Regions from separate parts of the Homo sapiens genome. Here all the other regions are linked to region 3. Evidence: promoter capture Hi-C in human tissues and cell types (Jung and others, 2019). All regions are on one chromosome and are shown on one strand. The core of a region is centred on a gene start or on the middle of the fragment in contact, and the rest is flanking DNA. Distances in the headings are between cores, read along the strand shown. Region 1 overlaps FBXW7 (F-box and WD repeat domain containing 7). Region 2 overlaps FBXW7 (F-box and WD repeat domain containing 7). Region 3 holds the start of SH3D19 (SH3 domain containing 19).

Evidence for each region. Contacts are between HindIII fragments. The study calls those that stand out against the background at their distance.
Region 1: a fragment that was not itself captured here is called in contact with the fragment with the promoter of SH3D19 in region 3 in 1 of the 25 tissues and cell types used here (dorsolateral prefrontal cortex).
Region 2: a contact is called between a fragment that was not itself captured here and the fragment with the promoter of SH3D19 in region 3, in 1 of the 25 tissues and cell types used here (dorsolateral prefrontal cortex).

The regions. Positions count from the first base shown.
Region 1 is chr4:152,354,442-152,357,711 of GRCh38, reverse strand. The region is part of intron 4 of FBXW7 (F-box and WD repeat domain containing 7); the gene reads left to right. Among named protein-coding and RNA genes, the nearest start is that of FBXW7-AS1, 18 kb to the right of the region's middle. The HindIII fragment of the contact is 5,495 bases long and covers 1-3,270 here.
Region 2 is chr4:152,325,061-152,328,640 of GRCh38, reverse strand. FBXW7 (F-box and WD repeat domain containing 7) reads left to right here. Exons shown (of 14, transcript NM_001349798.2): 11 at 252-433; 12 at 2,410-2,635. Among named protein-coding and RNA genes, the nearest start is that of FBXW7-AS1, 11 kb to the left of the region's middle. The HindIII fragment of the contact is 8,165 bases long and covers 1-3,580 here.
Region 3 is chr4:151,323,739-151,327,346 of GRCh38, reverse strand. It overlaps SH3D19 (SH3 domain containing 19), which reads left to right and starts at 1,742. Exons shown (of 20, transcript NM_001378122.1): 1 at 1,742-2,106. The coding sequence starts at 1,995. The HindIII fragment of the contact is 31,894 bases long and covers 1-3,250 here.

The DNA.
Region 1 (3,270 bases), core at 37-2,536, 1.0 Mb before region 3:
ACTGCAGTTGATTAGTGTGTCACACTAATCAGAGGCTGTGTCTTTGTAAGGAGAGTTTTAAATAGCTTAAACTTCAAGAATTAAAACTTCTGGCCAGGCACGGTGGCTTACCCCTGTAATCCCAGCACCTTGGGAGGCTGAGGCGGGCGGATTACTTGAGGCCAGGAGTTCGAGACTAGCCTGGCCAACATGGTGAAACCCCATCTCTACTAAAAATAGAAAAATTAGTGGGGTGTGGTGGCACACGACTGTAATCCCAGCTACTTGGGAGGCTGAGTCATGAGAACCTCTTGAACCCAGGAAGTGGAGGTTGCAATGAGCCGAGATTGCGCCACTGCACTCTAGCATGGGCAACAGAGTATGACTATGTCTTTAAAAAAAAAAAAGAAAAAACTACTACTTCTGTAATTATATTAAAATTTATTTAAAAGCAGTCAGCTATAACATTTTGATTTGCAGCTTGATTTACAAAGGTTTGGATTATATATATTATAAACATCCCCTTCCCCCCAAAAAATAAGTTTAAGTAAAGTAAGATTATCTATTACAGTGTTTAGTGTTTGGGATTTTTTTCTAAGGCACTAGTGTCACAGTATTTGTTTACTTAGATGGTAGTTTTGAACTAAAGCTGGCTCATCTTGTTTTATTTTACATGTTCTCAAAAATTTTTTAGAACTAATTTCAGTATGAGTTCTAACAGTCAGATGTTTGTGTATATTACGTTACACTATGCTCTTGTGTTAATTGACTGTATTTCCAATGGAGAAAGAACAAAGTTTCAATTGATGTATATAATATTCTGTGCCCAACACAAAGTAGGTGCTAAACAAATGCTTACTGAATGAATAAATATGGAAAATTGCTTATTGGCCAATACTGCCACCTATTTGTGTTAGTGAAAATGTAAATGCTGGGCATATATACTATTCCAGTTGATATCTGTAATAGAACAGGTTTATTAGTTTGCCAGTTTTAATAAGCAAACCTTTTAATAAGCACTCACATCCCAGAAAGTTAATGACAGTGAGTTAGTGAAATTTCAAAAAGTATTTCAGTCTCAACATGCTTGGCATTCCTTTCATTGATGTTGAAATTTTGAACTGTCTGTAATTTTGAACTGTCTGTAATCTAAATTCTGTGCTCAGGGCAAGACAGCTAACTGTGGTGGTTTCCTAGTCCTTTCTAGAGTACAAAGTGTTGTCATGATAATAATAAAATCACTGACATAGGAATATAAACACATTCTCCTACTATTATAAAATGGAAGTGTATTTTTAAATGTTAGCAAGGTAAAGAAAAGAACTAATAGTATTCATAGTATTTTCCACTAATTATAAACTTTTTAGTTGAGTTAAACTTTTTAGTACTGATTGTAATATATGTTTAAGCTTTAGAAAAATAATGCTGTGGTTTCTGATATTTGCTTGTATGGCCAATTCAAAAATATTAATTATTTGTTTTGTATCATTTTCTGGATGCCCTAGAAATAAATTTGAGTAAGATGTGAATCTTTAGGGAGGAGATAGGGGAGAAAGATGTATAAAAATAATGACAATGAACTATGATAACTGCAGTAATAGAACTATATATAAGACGGAAATAATGAACTCTTGAGAGTCAAGGTGAGGTAAAGTACTCTATTAACTACATCCTTTATGTTGACATTATATGTAAAGATAAGTATTTCTCTGAAGATACATGATTCGCTTAAGACCATTTGTGTATATTTTTCTCACTGTATATACACTATTTTTTCTTTCTGCTCACAACCACAACTTGCCCTTCTAAAAACTTAAGTCGTCCCAATTATTTGTTCAGAGCTCTGGTAGGAGCTCACGGGTTAATGATTCTATGGCATCATTCCCCAGAGGCAAACATATCATCATATATTTGTGTTGTTTTTTTTTCCTCGTTACTTCTAACTTCTATGCTAGCACACTAGTTCCACTTCTACACCTAGCACAGTGGAGTTGTGATGAGATGAGCATTGGGTCTGAGTTAGCAGATGGATTTTATTCCAGGACCTTATTGTTGGTCATTCCCTTTGCTAATGGAATTTCAATAATGCTTCTAGGTTGTCAGTCAACACAAGAATTAATTTTTTATAGAATGGGAGAAATGAGTGCCTAGCTGAAATTCCATGAAAATTATTGTAATGAAAATATATTTAATATAGTGAAATAGTAATTCTAAAAATATAGATGACAAACATTTTCTTAGCTGTTTGGTTGACTAACTTAGCTATTTGGTTTCTTAGCTATTTGGTTGACCTTCTTTCCTGTGAACTTACTACTTAATATTTTAGTGTAAGGCATAAAATACTTTAAAAAAACTTATTTAACATAGATAATAGACTGATCTAAAGTTTAAAATGTTTCTTGTCACAGAGATAAGATAGATAAATACAGACACAAACCCATAAAAATTTTTAAATATTATATTACCAAAAACTTAAATCTGAATAAAGTTTCAAACTATATTTTAGCCGAGTGGTATAAATAGAAATGCAAGTGATTTTATTTGCTTTGTTCATATTAAGATTATGATGACAGTAATATAATAGATCACAGTTTTCATTGATAGTACGTCAGAGAATGTTGAAAATCATTTTTATTCTGTTAATTTGAAATTCAGTTAGAAGCTTAGTTGACTAGTTTTGCTTGACAGATTCTTCACAGTTCAAATTAACATCATAAGATATTAGGGAGAATTGTTTAAATACTTGGGAAGACAAGGTCTTCATTAGTACTTATAAACATTCGCATTTCTCACTTAAAGGATAAACAATAAAAATCATTCCCAAATGGGAACCATGGTAGATGGAGGATATGTGGTAGTAGAAAGACTTCTCAGTGTAGAATTTTTTGTATATCATTTTGATGTTTGAAGCATACAAACCTGGTAATAAAACATGGATCTACAGGACAGTACCCACATACAAACAATATTTGTAGGGAACAGGTTTTCCTGTAACTCACAGCCCTAAGTAGGAGCCATATAACCATGGGAGCAGTCCTTTGAATATACAAAGTTAAGAGATATTTTCTTTAGGTTTTGAGACAGTATCCCCTACTTCATTAAAGTTGGTCTCTTCTTAACTGAGTAGATTTAATTTGAAAAGGTTAGTTCAACTAGAAATAGGACATGATTTCAGTTGAAGCCAAAGTATATACTATTATAGCACTAGTATTACACGTGTCTTATGGAAAACTTGTTACCACTGACAAATTCTGGATGAAATTTCAGGTGTTCTCATAGCCCAGAACATTG
Region 2 (3,580 bases), core at 943-3,442, 1.0 Mb before region 3:
CATGTTTTATATCATATGTTTGCTTTCTACATACTACATACACAATTGCTTGTGCTTATATAAATTTATAATGCTTTTGAATAAACAAAACAATAAATAGTGATGGGATCATTTTATACGGATGTAATATTTTCTGAAGAGCCAAACAAATTAAATAAGTAACTTTACTCCAAATTTTAATGAGCTATTAAATTTTATTTAAATCACTTTTCCTTTCTACCCAAAAGTAATCATCTTAAGTGTTTTTCCAGTGTCTGAGAACATTAGTGGGACATACAGGTGGAGTATGGTCATCACAAATGAGAGACAACATCATCATTAGTGGATCTACAGATCGGACACTCAAAGTGTGGAATGCAGAGACTGGAGAATGTATACACACCTTATATGGGCATACTTCCACTGTGCGTTGTATGCATCTTCATGAAAAAAGGTAAGGGAAAATCTTGTCATGGTTGGGACTTCTTCCTCTATTATTGGTGAATTTGGGCCCTTTCTGTGTAGAGTTACTGAAATAGTGACAGTGTGCTCTTAAATTAGATTTAATTATTACACTTCAGATGTTTCTATTCTAGGAAAGCCATAGCGTTTTGTCTTAAAATTGGTGATTGTCTGTAAATTTCCTTTCTCATTTGCTAGTGTTGTCAGCTTCCTGTTTGAAACTCTCTACTCTCTAATCTCTAATCCTTTTTGTTGTTCTGTATCTTTGATGACTCATCATATTCAAGCAGAAATCATGTTTTCTCTCTCTTTTTTTGATATTCTTATTTCCGCAAGTGGGACAAATTCAGGCTTCAAGCGTCTGAGCCTTTTTAAATTACCTACCCACCTTACACCCACCCTATCTCTAAGTCTAGGCAAAAGCTGAGGCCTGTGGGTAATTTGTTCTCTCATTCTGAACTATTGTCACAGCTTTCTAACTTGGTTATCTTATGTTTTATACAGCTGACATATAGTCCTTTTATAATTATGATAGTGTCACTGCCCAGTTCTTAAGTCTTTTTGAGCCTACTGTTGACTAACGAATTAAGGAAGAAATCCTCGATCCAGTTTTCAAAATGGTTTCTGCCAAACTGGACTTTTTGACTTTCTCTTCTCAGTGCCTTTGCTGTTGCTTTTATCTCCTCCTGTAAAGCCCTCCTATTAAAATCCTATCTTTCTATTATCGTCATCATACCCCTGTTAAACAAGTGTGATTTCTACCTCATTTGTCAAAAAAGGTCTCTCTGAAAGGTCCTTACAGTGAATCCATGGCAGTCTTTACCTTTAATTCTGTCTATCGCATCTTCTTTATTAAGAACAATTACATTAAGCAGATTTCACACCAGATTTGTAATATGTGAAAAGGAGTACCTTTTCAATTGTCATTTACCTCTACTTTGAACAGTGTGCTATACTGTTAAAATTTGGGGGATGAGTATCAAGAGACCTTGTATTCCAGTTTCCATTATGTTCTCTCAACATTAGGTTCTCAATTAAAGGGTTCTCTCAACCCTTTAATTATCTACTTTTTTAAAATATGGAAACTGTGGTATTTCTTTATCTCTTCAGAATGACATAAGGATACCTGAGTTTTCAGCTTTGTTTTGTAATCCAAAAGTGATTACAGTATTTGTATATTGCTCTGGTTTTCAGAAGAGTATAGCGCTGATGTTGAACCAAATGTTTAAGGGATAGCCATTGTTTTTAAAGATGTACATATCTTTTAAAATCTTTATCTCTTAATATTTTTATAGCCTATTGCATATTTATAAATCTAATCATTAAAAGCATAAGCAGCCTGTGTTTGAGGACATGTCTAAAACTGGTTAATTTTTACTGGAATGTATAGTGTAAACACAAATCTGCAGCTGTTTAAATTCCAAATTCTGACTTGTTTTGTTGTATAAACTTTATTGAATTTTTTACCTAATCACAAGGGAATATATGCATTCATAATTGAAATTTTGGAAAATGGCAAAGAACATAAAGAAAATTTAAATTCTTTAAACCACTACCACCTAGAGTTCTCCCATTAACATTTTATACATATGCCCACATTAACATTTTATTTCTAAAATCAAAATCTTATTGTATATATTTAGAGGCAGCTTCTGCTGCTTTTTAAAAAATACAGTACAGTGGTTTTCAAACTCAGTCCCACAGAACCTTAAGGTGCTGAACCTAAGGTCCCCAGGTCAGGGAACCAAGCATGCAGCATTCTAGGCTTCCCAACTTCCCATTCCCTTATTATGTTTATATACCAAGGTTTTACATAGGATTTCTTTTGAAAATGGTTGTTGCTGTGTAAAAAAAAAAAAAAAAAAGCTAAAAAACCTTGACTAAATCTACCATGTTTTCTCATATTATTAAAAATTCTAAACGTGGGTTTTTTTGTTTTGTTTTGTTTTTCTGTTTCTCCCTCTGCAGAGTTGTTAGCGGTTCTCGAGATGCCACTCTTAGGGTTTGGGATATTGAGACAGGCCAGTGTTTACATGTTTTGATGGGTCATGTTGCAGCAGTCCGCTGTGTTCAATATGATGGCAGGAGGGTTGTTAGTGGAGCATATGATTTTATGGTAAAGGTGTGGGATCCAGAGACTGAAACCTGTCTACACACGTTGCAGGGGCATACTAATAGAGTCTATTCATTACAGGTAAGATCTCTTATCTCTCCCTTAAATGCTCTCCTGATGAATCATAAGGTTGTTTTACTCAGATAATCACTGTCAAATTGCTGATCCAGTACAGTCCAAAAAAGATTAATCAGATTATTCTGCTGTTTTTATATACGTTAAAATTGGCATGAAGAAAGTGTAAATTTCAAAATTATTTAAATGCTTTCAATTTTCTGTGATCTATTTCTCCTCTAAATACAAATATTTGTTTTGCAACCTGACACTTTGGGGCTCTAAGTTTTGCTATGTTAATTAATGGTTAAATAGTCTCATAGGAGAGTAACCTGGATTTTAAGAAACTCCTTTGCAGAAGATTAATATGGCCAAAAGCTGCCCCTTTGCTTTGATAGCTGAAAGTTGATGGACCATGTAATTGTGATTCCATCCCCATTCAAAGTGGAAATAGATCCTTTCTGCATAAAGCACTCTACTGTCCCAGGCCCACTGATTTGTAGTCATAAAGAAGTAAAGTTGACTAAACCGATTTCTTTTTTTTGGTTTATATTTCAAGCCCATATCCTTGAAAACATTGCCATATTTTGAGATCATTAACTAGATGAATAGGAAGTTTAGAATATGAATCTTGTTTTATTTCCAGAAAGGCAACATTTTTAATGTAAAAATATTTCCTATAGCTTATATAGTTTATTTACCAGTTATTACCCATTAATGTTCAGCAAATTAGTACATAATCTTAGTACTGTCAATTCTGTTCTTAGGATATTTGTTTCTTTGTCAAAGGGATATTGTCCATGTCATGAAATATTGACAATATGATAAAAATGTTTGCTAAATTAGAAAAGGTGATGAATTTGGAGGAAGGGGAATTGGCTGCACCTGTTTCTGATATGTTCAGAAGCTTAATGAATATAATATTCTAATTTAAATAAACTGTTTGATTGAGAAAAGAGGTAGCCACATTAT
Region 3 (3,608 bases), core at 493-2,992:
GTAATAAAGTTTTAACTTGTGGATTTGACCTCAATTCCACAGAATCGATTGTGGTTCTTATCTGCTTAAAAGCGGAAAGATTTTCTCAGGCGGCAACAGCCACTATTGAAAAGGCAAAGAAACAGCACTCAGGTGTGGCAGGCAATTCTATTTTCAGTGACCCTTTTCTCCCTTTCTTTTTCTCTCCTACTTGCTGAACATTAGGAGCTCTTGGTAATCTCTCAGAAATAGAGCAAGACGCCAAAGATAAAGGCCTGTTCATCGCACTCAGGAATTTCCTAAGGTTTCATGTCCAGGTAATATTTCTGCCTGCTACTTGGGTATCTTTTGGTGAAATTCCAGAATCTTTTCCTCTCTGTGTGAAAGTAAGTACGTGCACCTACTGAACCTAAGATGTGTATTGTGCAGGTACACACAACTTTGGTTACACGGTTCTTTCCAGCTTTGAAAAACTTTCTTAGGGGTAGCTCACACAGCTAAGTGCTTCAAATTACAGTTTCTGACTCCAGAGCCAGTGGTCTCTCCACTTCCCCTAGTTGCCTCTCTACAAATAATCACGTATGGGTCTCTTTAACACATTTCTTCCTGTTCTTCTAGGAATTGTAGCCATATCCTAGCCCTAAATGAACTGGAATACAGTGAGGCTTGATTTATTATTAAACATTTTTATTAGACTTTTTTTTTTTTTCGAGAAGGACTCTCGCTCTGTTGCCCAGGCTGGAGTGCAGTGGTGCGATCTCCGTTCACTGCAAGCTCTGCCTCCTGGGTTCAGGCCAGTCTCTTGCCTCAGCCTCCCGAGTAGCTGGGACTACAGGCGCCCGCCACCACGCCTGGCTATTTTTTTTTTTTTTTGTATTTTTAGTAAAGACGGGGTTTCACCGTGTTAGCCAGGATGGTCTCGATATCCTGACCTCGTGATCTGCCCGCCTCGACCTCCCAAAGGGCTGGGATTACAGGCATGAGCCACCGCTTCCAGTCTTACTAGACTATTTTTAAGAACAGTTTTAGGTTCACAGCAAAATTGAGCTAAAGGTACAGAGATTTCCCATGTACCCCCTGCTCCCACACATGCATAGCCTCCCCCATTATCAACATCCCCCACCAGAGTGCCACAGTTGCTACAATTGATGAACCCACATTGACACCTCATAATCACCCAAAGTCTATAGTTTACATTGCGGTTCACTCTTGGTTTTGTACATTCTTTGGGCTTGGACAAAGGCATCCGCTATTACAGAATCATACGCATAGTAGTTTCACTGCCCTAAAAATCCTCTGTGCTCCCGCAAGTCTAGGTTTTTAAGGGCGAAAAGAGAGGGAAAGAAAAAAGTGTGCATTGCAGAGGCTCGACCCAACTCCAAGCCAAGTTTGTTCCAAAGTTCAGCAGCTCCCAGCTGTCCCATCTCTCCCAGTTCGGCCCCGGTCGGGTTCCTCCTCTTTTTGTTTAAGTGTCAAACAAATGGGTTTCCTGTTGACACTGGAATATCGTGAAAAGGCAGGAAGAGGCCAGGCCACCTCCTCTTTCCCCTCTTCCTATCCCGTTTATTTATTTTGCACACGTTTGTTTGGGTCGAGCTGGTGTTTCCAGCGTGTGTGGCTGTGGGGCGGCCTTAGGGGCCGATAACCCCTCCCTGAGGAGGCGAGGCCAGCCCCGAACCCGCCCGATCCGCGGTGGAGCTCTACGGGGCGGGGAAGGCAAAGAGGAAGGGGGAAGAGAGCGGGAGTGGGAGTGGGAAAGGCCAGGGATTAAGAGGCCGCCGGGACGCCGCAAGGAGGCGGGGAATCGGCTCGGCCCGCGCCCTGCCGCTGCCCGGCCGGCTGCAGGTGGAGTTCGCGGAGGTGGCCATTTCCACAGCCGCCGCCGACGCCTCCTCTCCGGGAGCCGCCTTCCCCCCGGCCCGAGGGCGGTGGCGTGGGGCGCCGGGTGCAGGCGTTCTGGGGCGCCGGGGCCGCAGCTCGCTGGCCATCCCGCGGCTGCGCCCCGCGCCTCGCCCATGGCTGAGGGCCGGCGGCGGGAGGACGAGGAGGAAGAGCTACGCGAGCGCCGCGAACTTGGTGGCCAGCGCCGCGCCCGGGGCCGTGCGCTCTCGGGCCACTCGGCCGCAGGTGAGAGGCGCGGGGGACGGGGCGGCGGGGACCCAGAGCTGCGCGCTCTGGGGCCGCTCGGGTCCTGCCCCACACAGCGGCAGCTCCTTCACGCGCCGGGATGGGACCGGCTTCTTTAACTCTCAGAGGCCAGACTCGGGGAGGGTGGCATTTCCATCGCCATCCTCACTTTCCGGCCGAGCCCGAGGAAATTCAGACCCGTCTTTAACTGCTAGTGGTCGTACAGCTGAAACTCAAATTTTCCGTGCACACTAAATCCAGGAGCTGCTGGCTTGGGACTTGTGGCCTGGTTGATGACTTATCTCTGGATGAGTCAGAGGTCAATGGCCGTCTCGGTGGACAACGACACCTTCCGAGGGGTTTGCCTGCGCCGCCGCAGCCAGGTCAGAGCACGTGCTCATAACTGAGGCAAGTCCTGTTTCGGCGTCCCTTGCACTTCGGACCTGTGACCCCCCTCCCTCCCTCCCCCAGCCGCCGAGCTCACCAGTTTTCTGTAGGACTTGTTTTCGTTAGTTGTGAGACCCTCCCCCACGCAAAGAGAAGTCCAGAATATAGCATTCCAAAAGGCCATTCATTTGGGCTGAGAATCATTTTCGGGCCTGTAATTACTTTTATGATACTGTGTTTTGGGTACACAAAAGCGGCACGGATCAAATAGTTTGGCACATTAGTGAAAGAGTGAATAAGTGTAGATCCACACCCCTTCCCTCTTCCGGGCGGCTTTTCAATCAAACATAATAGAGAGGACATTCTTTGGCCTTTGGTTCCAACTGGGTAATCCGAGTTATCTGAAAACAAGAGGGAAGAACAAACCTAGGGGGACTGGCAACAAAAGGGAGATAGGGAAGTGAGAGAGTCGGAGGAGAACGATTCACTGAGAGCCTCATTATAAAGTGGAATATAGCGAATATTCCATGAAGTGGAGAAGCTTTTCTGTGTGACTCCCTTAACCACTAAGAGAAAGTTGGAAAAATAGAGAAGATATTGTATCTGTGCGGAACAAATGGAGGGTAGAAAGTAGGATGAAAGGAAAACTTGAGAAGAACATCTTGAAGAAATAGTCAATTTAATGCCTTTGGTAGAATCTTGGAACATAAAAATAATTCTCCATGCTCATTATTACAACTTTTCATCAAAATAAGGCATTTGGCTGTCTATATGAACACCAGTTTTGAACATAATTGGTAATTTTGTTCAGTGTAAACCCAAACCTTGTGAAATAATGAATAGTTGCTGGATATAAGTGAATATTTCTTGCAAGAGTACAATGAAAAAACTTTACAAAGATATACCGCCATGCCTGACCTATGGATTTAAACAGGGTAGGCCACCTTAGATTCCTGTTACCTTCAGCAGAAAGCTTCATTCTCACAAGAGACTGTACAGTGAAGACCTGTTTTGGAGTTCAGACTAGATGTGATCCAGATGTGTGTTTATCATTTAGTTGCAATATGTGTATTTATTCCAAAGCTGGTGGAAATGACATTTTGTAATTAGTTTTC